Regions from separate parts of the Homo sapiens genome. Here all the other regions are linked to region 2. Evidence: promoter capture Hi-C in 16 types of primary human blood cells and fetal thymus (Javierre and others, 2016). All regions are on one chromosome and are shown on one strand. The core of a region is centred on a gene start or on the middle of the fragment in contact, and the rest is flanking DNA. Distances in the headings are between cores, read along the strand shown.

Region 1 (3,034 bases), core at 482-2,981, 1.4 Mb before region 2:
AGAGTGAGCATGTGCACGTAAAATTGAGCGAGCATAGCCCTGGGAATTTTATCAATTTTGGCGGGTGTTCTTCCTAATGCAGTTTATAACAACATGAGGGAAGTTAAAGCTATAGGATGTTTGCATCATTTTCCTATTAATGTCACTTATGTGTATTTATACTTTGTACACATGATAAATAATAAAACAAGCTATTTAGTATTGAGATTGCTGAATAGGAAGCAAAGAGACAGCCTATGTCATTGACTAAGTCACTTAACCTCTCCTGGCCAGTTTTTTTGACTGCAAAAATTAGAGTTGGACAGGGTTGCTTCTAAGGCCTTTTCCAGCTTTAATATTTTATGGTTAAAATAGAAACTAAGACAAATAAATGTATGTTTTCAGAAAGATCAAAGGCATAAACATACCTCAGATTTACATCTCCTAAGGGGCATCATATACTTCCTTACACATAGCAGGTAGTCAGGAAAATATCTGTTGATTACATTTAAATTTTTTATGTGATTGGTTTCTTAAATAAGTAGATGGAATGAGTTATTTCAAAGGCCTTTTCCAAATGTTATCTTCTGCTTAAAATGTAATTTAAGCCACATAAATAGTGTAGTTAGATCAATGAGATTTTAAATTCAAGAACAGAAGTCTTATCTTTGATCTATGTATTCCCTTTGAAGCTTCATATTTTCTCCCATAGCAGGTGATCATGGAACTATCTCTGATTATAGTTATTATTATGGTTATTTCTTTGCTCAGCTTTTCAAGTAGAATTGAACATTTTTTTAATATGAAAACACTGAACTATTTTCAAAACCCATTATGAATTATATAATGTCTCTCCATTTCTTGCTATCTAAATGTACGTTATAAGAACAAGTGAACAATTGGGAACTGGGTACCCAAGTGAGTGAAATATTCTGTTCCTTAGTTTTCCTTAATGCGACTTTTAATTAGCTTTCCCATGCTTTAGATACTAAATTTATGAAGAATAAAAGTTAAAAGCCAAATGCTAATCTTGTATCACTGCTTGTCTTGTATACTACTTGTCCTAGGATTTCTATATTACAACTAGGAAGATATGAATTAAAACCACCAAAGAGACTATAACCATAAATAACTTATGACATATGTTCCATTATTAATTGAAAACTCATAGTTAATAAACTTTGGGAAGGAAACTTTCAGGCACATGGCATGGAATATGAAGGTGATGTTCTTTTTATAAATTTTAAAGGTAGCATATATTATACAAATTACTCAAGAGTTTACAAGCAGAAAAAAAGGAGAAAAAATAAAATTCACGCGCACCCTATATTAACATGTAATTCGTAGTGAAATGTGTGAAATATAAACACATGACTTTCACTTATTCATTTTCACTTTACGCTTTTTAATTGAAATTAAATTAGTCACTTAACATACATAATGCAGTGTTTGTTTTCCAGTCTAGTAGCTTTTCAGCATTCAGTTTTGTGGCTCATGGGAAATGTTACTTAGCATCAAGATGTGGTTTGATGAGTGAACAATGTCAGTATCAACTGTACTTAACAGAAGACAGAGGGGCTGGGGTTAATCTGCAGCTAACAACATATAAAAATAAAAACAAACACAGACCCACAATAACATCAACATGCATTATTAGGCAAAGATCCAAAATTAACCCAACCCACACAGATTTCTTCTAAGCTGAGATTACACATGGAAACAGATACTTTATCAAGATCCATAGCCATAGTAGTAAGGTTCATCAGGGCGGAATCCATATGCTGTGGCAGGGCGTCCAAGAATGCCAACTGGTTGGCCAAAGCCATCCATTCCAAGGCTAAAAAAGAAAAAAAAGAATGATAAGCTATGTTTTTCATCACACATCCACAATGCAGATTAAGAGGCCTACATTTTTATACCACCAAGATTCTCTTCCTAGCAGGGATAGTGATTTAGGTGGATATCATTAACTTTTTTTTTTAAGGTTAATAGAGCCATTAAAAGTGTATATAATAAAATACTTCTAACAATGTGTGTTAAAAGTATGGGAAACCTCTGTCAGTAGGTACTATTTGAAACAAAGTGGAAGAATCAAATCAGAAAAGTTTTATTTAATAAATTACTTATATATGGCTCTTAAGCAAAAATATGAAAAGATTTTACATGCTAGCAATGATCAGTAATATATTGCTAGGGAATGATAAAAATAAAACTGTAGTAAAGTGAGTTTTGCTGTTTATAATGTCTTTTCATATGAAGATACAGGACTAATTCCACTTTTAGTAAAAACATGTGTTTGAGTTATATCAGTGAACTCTCATGCAGGGCCAAATCATACCATAAGCCTATGATTAAAAGAACAAGATAAGGAATTTGACAAAATTTGAAAATTAGTCAGATTTGATCTGCAAATCCTTCCTCTGATTCCTCAATGCAAACAATTACAAAACATATCTATTTCTTTTGAGTGACAGCAAGACAATTACAAATTTTGGTTCAACTTATTCTATGGGAATAACAGAAACCCAAAGATAACCTTCAGAGTTGTAAAGATAGCTTGAAGTATGTTAAACTTCATGATTATTATTTTAAAAAAATTACTTGTTGGTCTATTAATACATTATTTAGAGGAAAATCTGTTCTCCAAAGTCCTTTTTAAAGGTCAGGGAATTATCCAACACTTAGGAAAATGATAAAGTATTTATTTTGCCAGGCAGAACATGGTGGCCTTAACATGCTCATGCATAGCTCATGCAGTGAATGCTAGTGAGCTTGACTTCCAATCAATGGACACCATTTGTAATGCAGAAATGTAAGCTTTGGAAAAATAAAACATATTTAAATGATTTAAGATTTAAGTTTGCACTACATGAGATGGAAAGATAATTTTCCCTCAATAGCAAAAACTGAATGTGATGAAAAAATATATTCACATAGGCACTAACTCCCTGTCACACTCAGAGTGAGATTAAGTTGACACACTTTAGAAGTAACTATTAAAATGTTAAGGTTTTAAATAAATGTGTGAATGCGTGTGTGTGTTTGTGTGCACGCG
Region 2 (2,923 bases), core at 97-2,596:
CACTCACCACAAAGGTCCGCAGCTCCATTCTTGAAGTCAGGGAGACCAGGAACCCACCGGAAGGAACTAACTCTGGACACAATATTTTTTTTTCTTTTTTTAAATTTTTTTCTTTATTTCTTCTAAAAAAAAGTGGGATGCATGTGCAGAACGTGCAGGTTTGTTGCATAGGTACACGTGTGCCATGGTGATTTGCTGCACCTATTGACCTGTTCTCCTCTAAGTTCCCTCTCCTCACCCCCTACCCTACAACAGGCCCTACAACATTCCCCTCTCTGTGTCCATGTGTTCTCATTGTTCAACTCCCACTTATGAGTGAGAACATGCAGTGTTTGGTTTTCTGTTCCTGTGTTAGTTTGCTGAGGATGATGGCTTCCAGCTTCATCCATGTCCCTGCAAAGGACATGATCTTATTTCTTTTTATGGCTGCATAATATTCCATGATATTTTTCAAAAGAAAATATTTGCTGCCAACAGAAGATTTTATATTAAAATCTGTATTTGCAGCTTTTACTGAAAAGAACCTAAGGCCTTGCCATATTGGGCTCATTTTCTCAAATAGCAACATTTAGCTGAACTGAATAGACAGAGAAAGTACTTTCCAGTCAGATCATATCTGGCCCACTTTCCTCGTGTATGTTACCCTCCTCACTCCTGTAGGCATTTGCATGTGTAGTCACAAGCAAATGTGGTTTAGAAATTGTTCAGTGAACCATGTTGGAAAATGTCCCTAAACACAAGTCCTAAAGATGGTCTGTTATATTATCTTACAAGCACACAGTGGAAGGAAAAACAGTTAAGTTTTCTATTTCTGCCACAGCTTCTATAATTATTACCTTTCTTGTGCCCTAGGTTAATATCTAAAAATAGCTTTATGCTTTCTCAAACACATTTCACCAGCTCCCTCTGCTGATCCAATCTGAAGGACAAAACAGCTTAAATTCCTTGTAAGTCCTGAACTTTAAAATCACATTTCTGGGGTTGGAGAACTCCAAGCATGAAAGAACTTGATGAGGTAATGGTCATCTAAATAACTTTCTCCTTTGGACAGCTCCTATGGTAATCCAAGCAAGAGTCAGGGTGTAGAAGTTTGTTTCCAAAAGTAGAACTCCTGTTTCGCTGAGAAAGCTGTAATTTGGGGTGATTTGGCGCCCTCTACAGACTATAATGGCAAAAGCGACGCTATCATGTGCTTCCCATAGCTTTAGGGCTTTGCCAGAACTATGACGTTGAGGAGGGTGGGGTAAAGGGGCAGGAAGCGTTTATGTTCTGCCAATCCAACAGCTGTATTCTAACTCACCATTCCGCCCTCCCTTAAGATCACGGAAGTATCACGCTTGCCTCTTACACAACTTTTTTTCCTTAGTCTGTATACTTTCTGCTGTCACTAGCATAACAGAAAAGACGAATGGCTTTTGTTTTAAACTGAGGGCACTTTTACAAAAGTCATCTTTCCATTTATTTTTCTTTCAGAAAAAAGAATTTGGGTTTTGAGCTTTTTTAAAAAAAAAAGACAAACACTTTCCTTGACTTTGAGAAATAATTTAAGTCAAAGAATCTGCTCTATGCTAACCAAGGTAAGTGTCCTGGATTTTTTTTTTAATGGGGAAATGATCCAGAAACTGCTTTCACAAAAGATGAATGTTTTTCTTGGAGTGTGTTCCTTAAGAATGAATGTGATTATCTTCTTTTGGGGTCTCTTGACTAGGGCTAAAGCAAGAGAATTAAGGAGAGAGTCAGGAAGCAAAGGGAAGTTGTAAGGAAACAAAGTTATGTTGTGGACAGAACCATCCAAAAGGAAAGTGTCAGTGAGATAAACAGAATCATGAGACTTTCAGTGACTCCAGTGACCTCTGATTTCATCTTATGAATGAGATGGAAATGCCAGCCATTGGGAAACAAATACCCCATAGATGGCGTGGGAAAAAAATACTGTAACAAAGCAAGAGCATGGTAGGATGATGATAAGAAACATAAAATGATCAAATTTCAAATTCAAAGAAATCATAATTGATTACATGATTTGCAAATCACCCAAGTCTCTCCATGTCTCATAAAGGATTCCTACATTTGCTGGTCAGTCAGGTATAGGGTGGGGTTTTCCCGTTGTACAAAGGTCTAGTTCAATAGGTCAGGTCTCCTTTCTGCCAAGGGACTAAATATAAGCAACCTATGGCTGGCACGGTGGCTCACGCCTGTAATCCCAGCACTTTGGAAAGCCGAGGAGGGCAGACCACTTGAGATCAGGAGTTTGAGACCAGCCTGACCAACATGGTGAAACCCCGTCTCTACTAAAAATACAAAAATTATCCAGGCGTGGTGCCGCCTGCCTGTAGTCTCAGCTACTCAGGAGGCTGAGGCAGGAGAATCACTTGAACCCAGGAGGTGGAGGTTGCAGTGAGCCGAAATTGTGCCACTGCATTCCAGCCTGGAAGACAGAGTGAGACTCCAACTCAAATAAATAAATAAATAAATATAAGCACCTTTGAGCAACCAAGTACCTTATGAAGTCCACTTTATAGTTTGCAGAGTTTGCACACACGTTCTCCCAATCCTTCAAGCCTGCAGTATTCTCGCCTACCTTTGAATTCATATCTTTTTTTTTTTGTGCACCAATTACTTGGTTTTCAGACATAAGAACAGTCCTTTCAAGCTTGAAGGAAACAAAGAGAAAGCCACTTGAACCCTCTGTTTTACAAATGTGGAAGCACTGGCTCAGAGAAATTGAGAATTGTGTCCAGGGTTACAAGCTGCTTAGAGGCAGAAGCAGAACTAGAACTCAGATCTCTCAATTTCCAGTTCACTCACTACCTTCCTCTACTGACTCAAGGCAAAATTTAAAAAGGTTGCTCCCATTCAGAAATTTATAGTCTGTAAATACGGATTAATTTTAAAAGGTGCTAATTCCCAATTTGTTTCTACT
Region 3 (2,916 bases), core at 131-2,630, 1.2 Mb before region 2:
TATAATAATCTACTGCTCCAGAGGTCACAAGATTTGTATCTTCCCTAATTGCTCTGATAGATAACAACACTATTGTCAAAACCTAAGATTAGTCTTTGAGATATTTTTCAGACTTTTGTATTCTGGACACTGACTGACTCCACCTGGACCTGTGACTCACACCACTGAACTAATTCAACTGGTTCTGTGATCCCCACCCAGGAACTGACTCAGCACAAGAAGATAGCTAAACCTGCTATAATATCATCCCCAAGTCAATCAATCAGTGTCTCCCATTTCCTAGCCCTCTGCCCTCCAAACTGTCCTTGAAAAACCCTAACTTCCAACTTTTGGGGGAGGCTTGTATGAGTAACACTCCCACCCTGCTGCTTGGCTAGCCCTGCAATTATTAAACTCTTACTCTACTGCAATACCGCTGTCACAGTGAGTTGTTTTTTTCTCTGTAGTGGGCAAGAATAACCCATAGACACACCCATGTGTGTCTATTTCTAGGCTTTTCATTTTATTCAGTTGGTTTACTGAGCTATTTTTACATCGATACCTGAGGGAAGTGTTCCCAACCTGGCTCTTCCATATTTTTCTCAGTATTGCGGGACCTTTCCCTGTCCACTTAAAAATTTAAAATTGTGTTTCAAATTCAGTAAAATACCTTTTGGGATAATGACTGACATAATGAATTTTCAGATTAAGGCATCTATCCATGAAAATGATAAATCTACTTTTAAGATTTAATTTTCTTTTAATGAAATGATATAAATTTCTTTAGAAAGGTGATGCCCATCATTTATTATTAGATTTATTCCCAAGTACCTTATATTGTTATTTGCATTTGTAAATAACTTTTTTGCTAACAATATTTAACCAACTATATCAAAATTCAATTTGGGAGTGGGAGGTATATAGATGTTACATCCAGCAACTGTTGCTTAATACCTTGATATTAATGCCAATAGCTTGAACATTATTTTAGGTTTTCTCTACAAACTAATATATAATTTGTGAATAATATCAGTTTCATTTCTTCTCTTCCTATCTTTATACCTTTTCTATTTCTTATCTTACTACCTGTTTAGGACTCCTGGTGAAATGTTGAGGTGGTTACATAGGTATCCTTGGATCATCCTTAATGTTAAGGGAAATGTTTCTAAAGTTTCCTCATTTACTGATGTTACTTTATTTTTTGAGAAAGGGTCTCACTCTTGTCACCTAGGCTGAAGTGCAGTGGTGTGATCACAGCTCACTGCAGCCTTGCCTCCCAGGCTCAGGCAATCCTCCCACCTCCACCTTCCAAGTAGCTGGGACTACAGGCATGCACCACCATGCCCAGCTAAGTTTTGTATTTTTTATAGAGATGGGGTTTCAACATATTGCCCAGGCTAGTCTTGAACTCCTGGGCTCAAGCGATCCACCAGCCTCAGCCTCCCAAAGTGCTGGGATGACAGGCATGAGCCAACACACCTGGCTAGTTTCCTCATTTAATATGTTTATATCATAATTCCCTTTTATTTATGGCTTTAGTTTTTTCCTTAAATCATGAATGTGTAGTGAATGTCATCAAATGTTTTTCTGCATCCATTGGAGGATCATGTATTGTTCTTCTTTAATTCATAAATATACTACATCAAATTCATTAAATACATAAAACCATACTCATATTCTTAGAATAAGCACAACTTGTTAATGCTGTCTTAAAGCACTGTTAGATTAAATTTGCATCCTTGCTCATTCAGCCTGCAATTTTCCTTTCTAATGTCCTTTTTCTGACTTTCATATGGAGATTATTCTAAAATCTTAATATAAATTAGTTGAGGAGTATCCTTTTTTTTCTAGACTTCTTGGAAGAGTTGTACATAATTGGAAGCATCTGTTTCCCAAAAATTTTGTTAGAATTTGACTTTAAAACTGTCTGGATGTAGCAGATTTTATCAGTATGAAATACTCCTCTGTAGTTTTTACAGTATACGTTTTCTTAAAGCCTATTTTATCTGACATTAATATGGTCATTTTAGCATTCTTATGCTTACTGTTTGATTGCACCCATTTACCATTAACTTACCATGTCCATACTTAAAAGTATATTTTTTGGGGATGACAGATAGTTGGGTCTTGCTTTTCTTTTTTCTTTATAAAAGAAATATTGGTGGCCGGGCGCAGTGGCTCACGCCTGTAATCCCAGCATTTTGGGAAGCCGAGGTGGGTGGATCATGAGGTCAGGAGATCGAGACCATCCTGGCTAACATGGTGAAACCCTGTCTCTACTAAAAAATACAAAAAATTAGCTGGGCATGGTGGCGGGCACCTGTAGTCCCAGCTACTTGGGAGGCTGAGGCAGGAGAATGGCGTGAACCCGGGAGGCGGAGCTTGCAGTGAGCCAAGATCATGCCACTGCCCTCCAGCCTGGGCGACAGAGCAAGACTCCACCTCAAAAAAAAAAAAAAAAAAAAAAAAAAGAAATATTGGTAATCTCTGCCTTTCCATTGGAACATTAAAACCTATGCTGTCTGATACAATAGTCACTAGCTACATGGGTCTATTTAAAATTAAATTTAAATACATTACATTTTAAAAATAATTAAAAATGCAATTCCTTAGCTGTACTAACCACGTTCAAAGTGTTCATTAGCCATACAGCCAGTGGCTATGTATTTGATGATGCAGCTGTAAGTCATTTCCATCAGGGAAGAAAGTTCTATTGGACATTATTGTTTTGGATCATTTAATGCAATGACTGACATACTTAGATTCAGATCTATCACTTCATTTTTATTTCCTGTTTGGCCCAACTATACTTTGATTATTTTCCTAACAGCCTTGTGAATTATTATTTTTTAAATTCCATTTTGTGTAGATGTTTTCACTATACTTTTAAAAACTGTTTTTGGTGGTTGCTTTAGGAAAAACAATGTTTTAGTTACC
Region 4 (2,981 bases), core at 175-2,674, 1.4 Mb before region 2:
GAATGCAATTTATCAGAGACAGCTCCCCTGAAAACACTGTCTAAAACAGCACCTTACCTGCCTCTTCCTGTCTTTTGACTTTGCCTTATTTTGCTTAACACCAATGCACATATTTGTTCAGCATCTCTGTCCCACAGCTAGAACATCAGCTCCCTGAAAACAGGGCTTCCTTCCTTCATTTCTTTCTTTCCTGCCATATTTCTAGCACATAACACAGTGCCTAGAACATACTAGGTACTCAGTAAATATTAAACACACAAATGAATTTACTGAGAGCACACTGCATGTCCCAGGCACCCTCCCTACATCTCTCTGCCTCCCAGCCCTTACCCCACAGAGCCCTCTATAGCTCTGGTTCCAGTTCTCAGTTCCCTGGAGCTGCTCTCTGAGCTCCTTCTGCCTTTCTTATGCATAGAAATCTTGTATTCCCTCACTGATTCCTCAGTCCTCATTTTAAATATGTCTAAGGCCAGGAAAGAAAAGAATCTCCAACAACCTGAATCCGCTGTCCTTGGAATGTGGCTGGTGGGACAGTTAGAAACAAATAGTTTGTTTTCTTAATAGAAATAATTTTTTCTTGTCATACTGTTTAAGGATCAACCTGAATTTTACTTCCAACCAATCCTCTTCTTAATTCAAATCAAAACATGTCAATGGTATTCAGCTTGACTTTTAGGTGTTTTTTTAATTAATCTTTTTCATGTTTCTAACTTAGATTCCCAAGTAGACTATAAGTATCTTGGATATATTCCTGGTTCTATAAAAGCCTTAGCCATCCAACTTAATTATTTTTTTCCAACTTGATTTGAACTAACTTTTTTACAAGCTCTACCTGAAAACCAAAGAGAGTAAAAGTTATTCAAGTGATTTCTATTTAATGTTCTACCTCAATAATTTGTGTAATTGCATAATTGCAATTAGAATCTGGAAGTGTAAAGGGGGAAACTTGCATGAATGACAAACCCTCCTTCAGGCACATTTCAGATAAATACATATAGCATCCATAAGTAGTGGATACCTTATAGAAAACTGAACTGGACCTAAGCCACTTTGTTCTCTCGTTGTTTTTAGGAACTTTGCATAGATATTGGAAGATTTCTCTAATGAGAAGTATGTGTTTTCTAAGTTCCACCATAACCTTGCTACCACTACAAAGAGAGAATGAAAGCAAGTCTGAGGTGGGATTCTACACATTCACACGTTTATTAGCAAGGTTTAAAGACAGGCAGTAGAGCTGTTATACAAACTCAGTGAGGTTCCACTTCCTTGTGTAGGAGCTTGAATAGCATCTTGCATGAAAGGTCCATCCACTGCAGGAAGATGGGACAGTATTCTAATAGCAGACTCAGCTATCCTCATTAGAGCTGGGTGACAAAATCTTCTTGTAATCTTCTCCATATGGGGCTGGTCTGAAATCCTAAATCTAGGGCACCTTTCCAAAGTGTGTAGATTGCTAGACTCACTAGATTCTCATACTCTGATCATGTAAGGCATGGCAACATTTCTATTCATTCTGTCCATCTTGAAATTACTTATTTTGGCCATGAAAATTCACTTTTAAACATCCTTAAAGCCACTAGTATTGATCTGAGTTAGAGATAGCTGAAGTGTTTGTAGTATCTGCCCCAGGAGTATAGACTTCTCATTGAAATCTTTCAGATGCTAAAAGCCTCTGAAGTGTGAATTGCTTCTCAACTTCAAAGAGCCATGAATCATCTTGGAATCATACTCCTGGGAGAAAGATTTGGGGCAAACAATGTGTGCATTATATATCTACCTCTTCTTTGAAATACTTCAGCCTTCAGGGAGATACAGATGTGTACTAACTTAGATCTATCCTGTAGGGGTGGTTAATTAATATTTGAAGGCAACATGAGCATCCTCTGGAAGCATGTTAAAAATGCAAAAGCTGAGGCCTCACGCTAGATTGTCGAGTCAGAATCTACATTTTAACAGGATCTTTAGGTGATTTGCAGGCACCTTCCTTGCAGGAAGGTTTGAGAACTGCCCTAAATGATCTAAGGCCTCCCTCCTTTGGCCTCACTGCTATCCTCCTGCTCACTAACTCTGGTCCATGCTCAGTGGCCTCCTTGCTGTCCTGTCAGCATGCCAGGTGAGCTCTTGCCTTAGGACTTTTGCTCTAGCGCTTCCTTTTCCTGTCATTCTCTTTTCCCACATGTCCATTTGACTAAGTCTGTTACTTCTATTTTTTGTTCAGATCTCGTCTTCTCAATGAAGTCTGTCCTGATCCACCCTATCTAATTCTACAACGTTTACCTTCCTTCCTGCTACACTCCTGGTGCTTCCTATCCTGTTTTCTTTTGCTTTTTCCCTCCATAGCACTGACCGTCTTATAAACAGCCATATACTGTATTTTCTAGATTGTAAAAACTATAGTTTTTCACATTTTAACATCCCTGAAGGTCAGAATGCATTTTACCACAAATGGCATAATATAATTTGTCAATAATTTTTTCTTAGTGGTACCAAATATATTGATGCTTCCTAAATGTGATGGCATCATATATTTGATGAAATATGACAATTTGCTTATGTATTATGGCTTTTGGTTTTGAGAGAAAACAATTATCTGAAACTTTAAAATAGGCAAAAGAGGTTACTGTGGCTTTCTTCCCATGCAATTCTGGATTAAATTCCTATTGACTAGGTTATTTTACTACTTCTTTATTACCTTTTTAGGGGCAGAGGCTAACTTTTTCATTTTCATCCACTAGAGATGTAAATAAGTTTGTCCAGCACAGCAAATCATCTTAATGGTTACAGTTTATTGTCCTGTAAGTTATTAACCCAGCAACCTGAACCTGACATGTCTTTATCAAATTGCCTACATATACACCTATCTTCTCAGCTGCTATTTGGACTAGTTTAAAATCTTACTGATTCCCTCATTAATAAAAACATTAAATAGAGTCTTTGACATGTGTTCATTTTATATTTGCCTGAGAAACCTCATTGTACTT

What was found. Contacts are between HindIII fragments. The CHiCAGO score rates a contact against its expected background, and 5 or more counts as called.
Region 1: a fragment that was not itself captured here is called in contact with the fragment with the promoter of FMO4 in region 2 in 4 of 17 cell types (naive B cells, total B cells, naive CD4 T cells and 1 more); the score reaches 10.1 in naive B cells.
Region 3: a contact is called between a fragment that was not itself captured here and the fragment with the promoter of FMO4 in region 2, in 1 of 17 cell types (total B cells). The highest score is 5.2, in total B cells.
Region 4: a contact is called between a fragment that was not itself captured here and the fragment with the promoter of FMO4 in region 2, in 3 of 17 cell types (naive B cells, total CD8 T cells and naive CD8 T cells). The highest score is 8.7, in naive B cells.

The regions. Positions count from the first base shown.
Region 1 is chr1:169,919,966-169,922,999 of GRCh38, forward strand. KIFAP3 (kinesin associated protein 3) reads right to left here. Exons shown (of 20, transcript NM_014970.4): 20 at 1,364-1,816. The coding sequence ends at 1,711. Among named protein-coding and RNA genes, the nearest start is that of SCYL3, 28 kb to the left of the region's middle. The HindIII fragment of the contact is 2,125 bases long and covers 670-2,794 here.
Region 2 is chr1:171,312,837-171,315,759 of GRCh38, forward strand. It overlaps FMO4 (flavin containing dimethylaniline monoxygenase 4), which reads left to right and starts at 1,347. Exons shown (of 10, transcript NM_002022.3): 1 at 1,347-1,577. The HindIII fragment of the contact is 2,730 bases long and covers 1-2,651 here.
Region 3 is chr1:170,063,190-170,066,105 of GRCh38, forward strand. All of the region lies in intron 1 of KIFAP3 (kinesin associated protein 3), which reads right to left. Among named protein-coding and RNA genes, the nearest start is that of KIFAP3, 10 kb to the right of the region's middle. The HindIII fragment of the contact is 4,323 bases long and covers 1-2,916 here.
Region 4 is chr1:169,897,980-169,900,960 of GRCh38, forward strand. No RefSeq gene overlaps it. Among named protein-coding and RNA genes, the nearest start is that of SCYL3, 5.6 kb to the left of the region's middle. The HindIII fragment of the contact is 5,358 bases long and covers 1-2,981 here.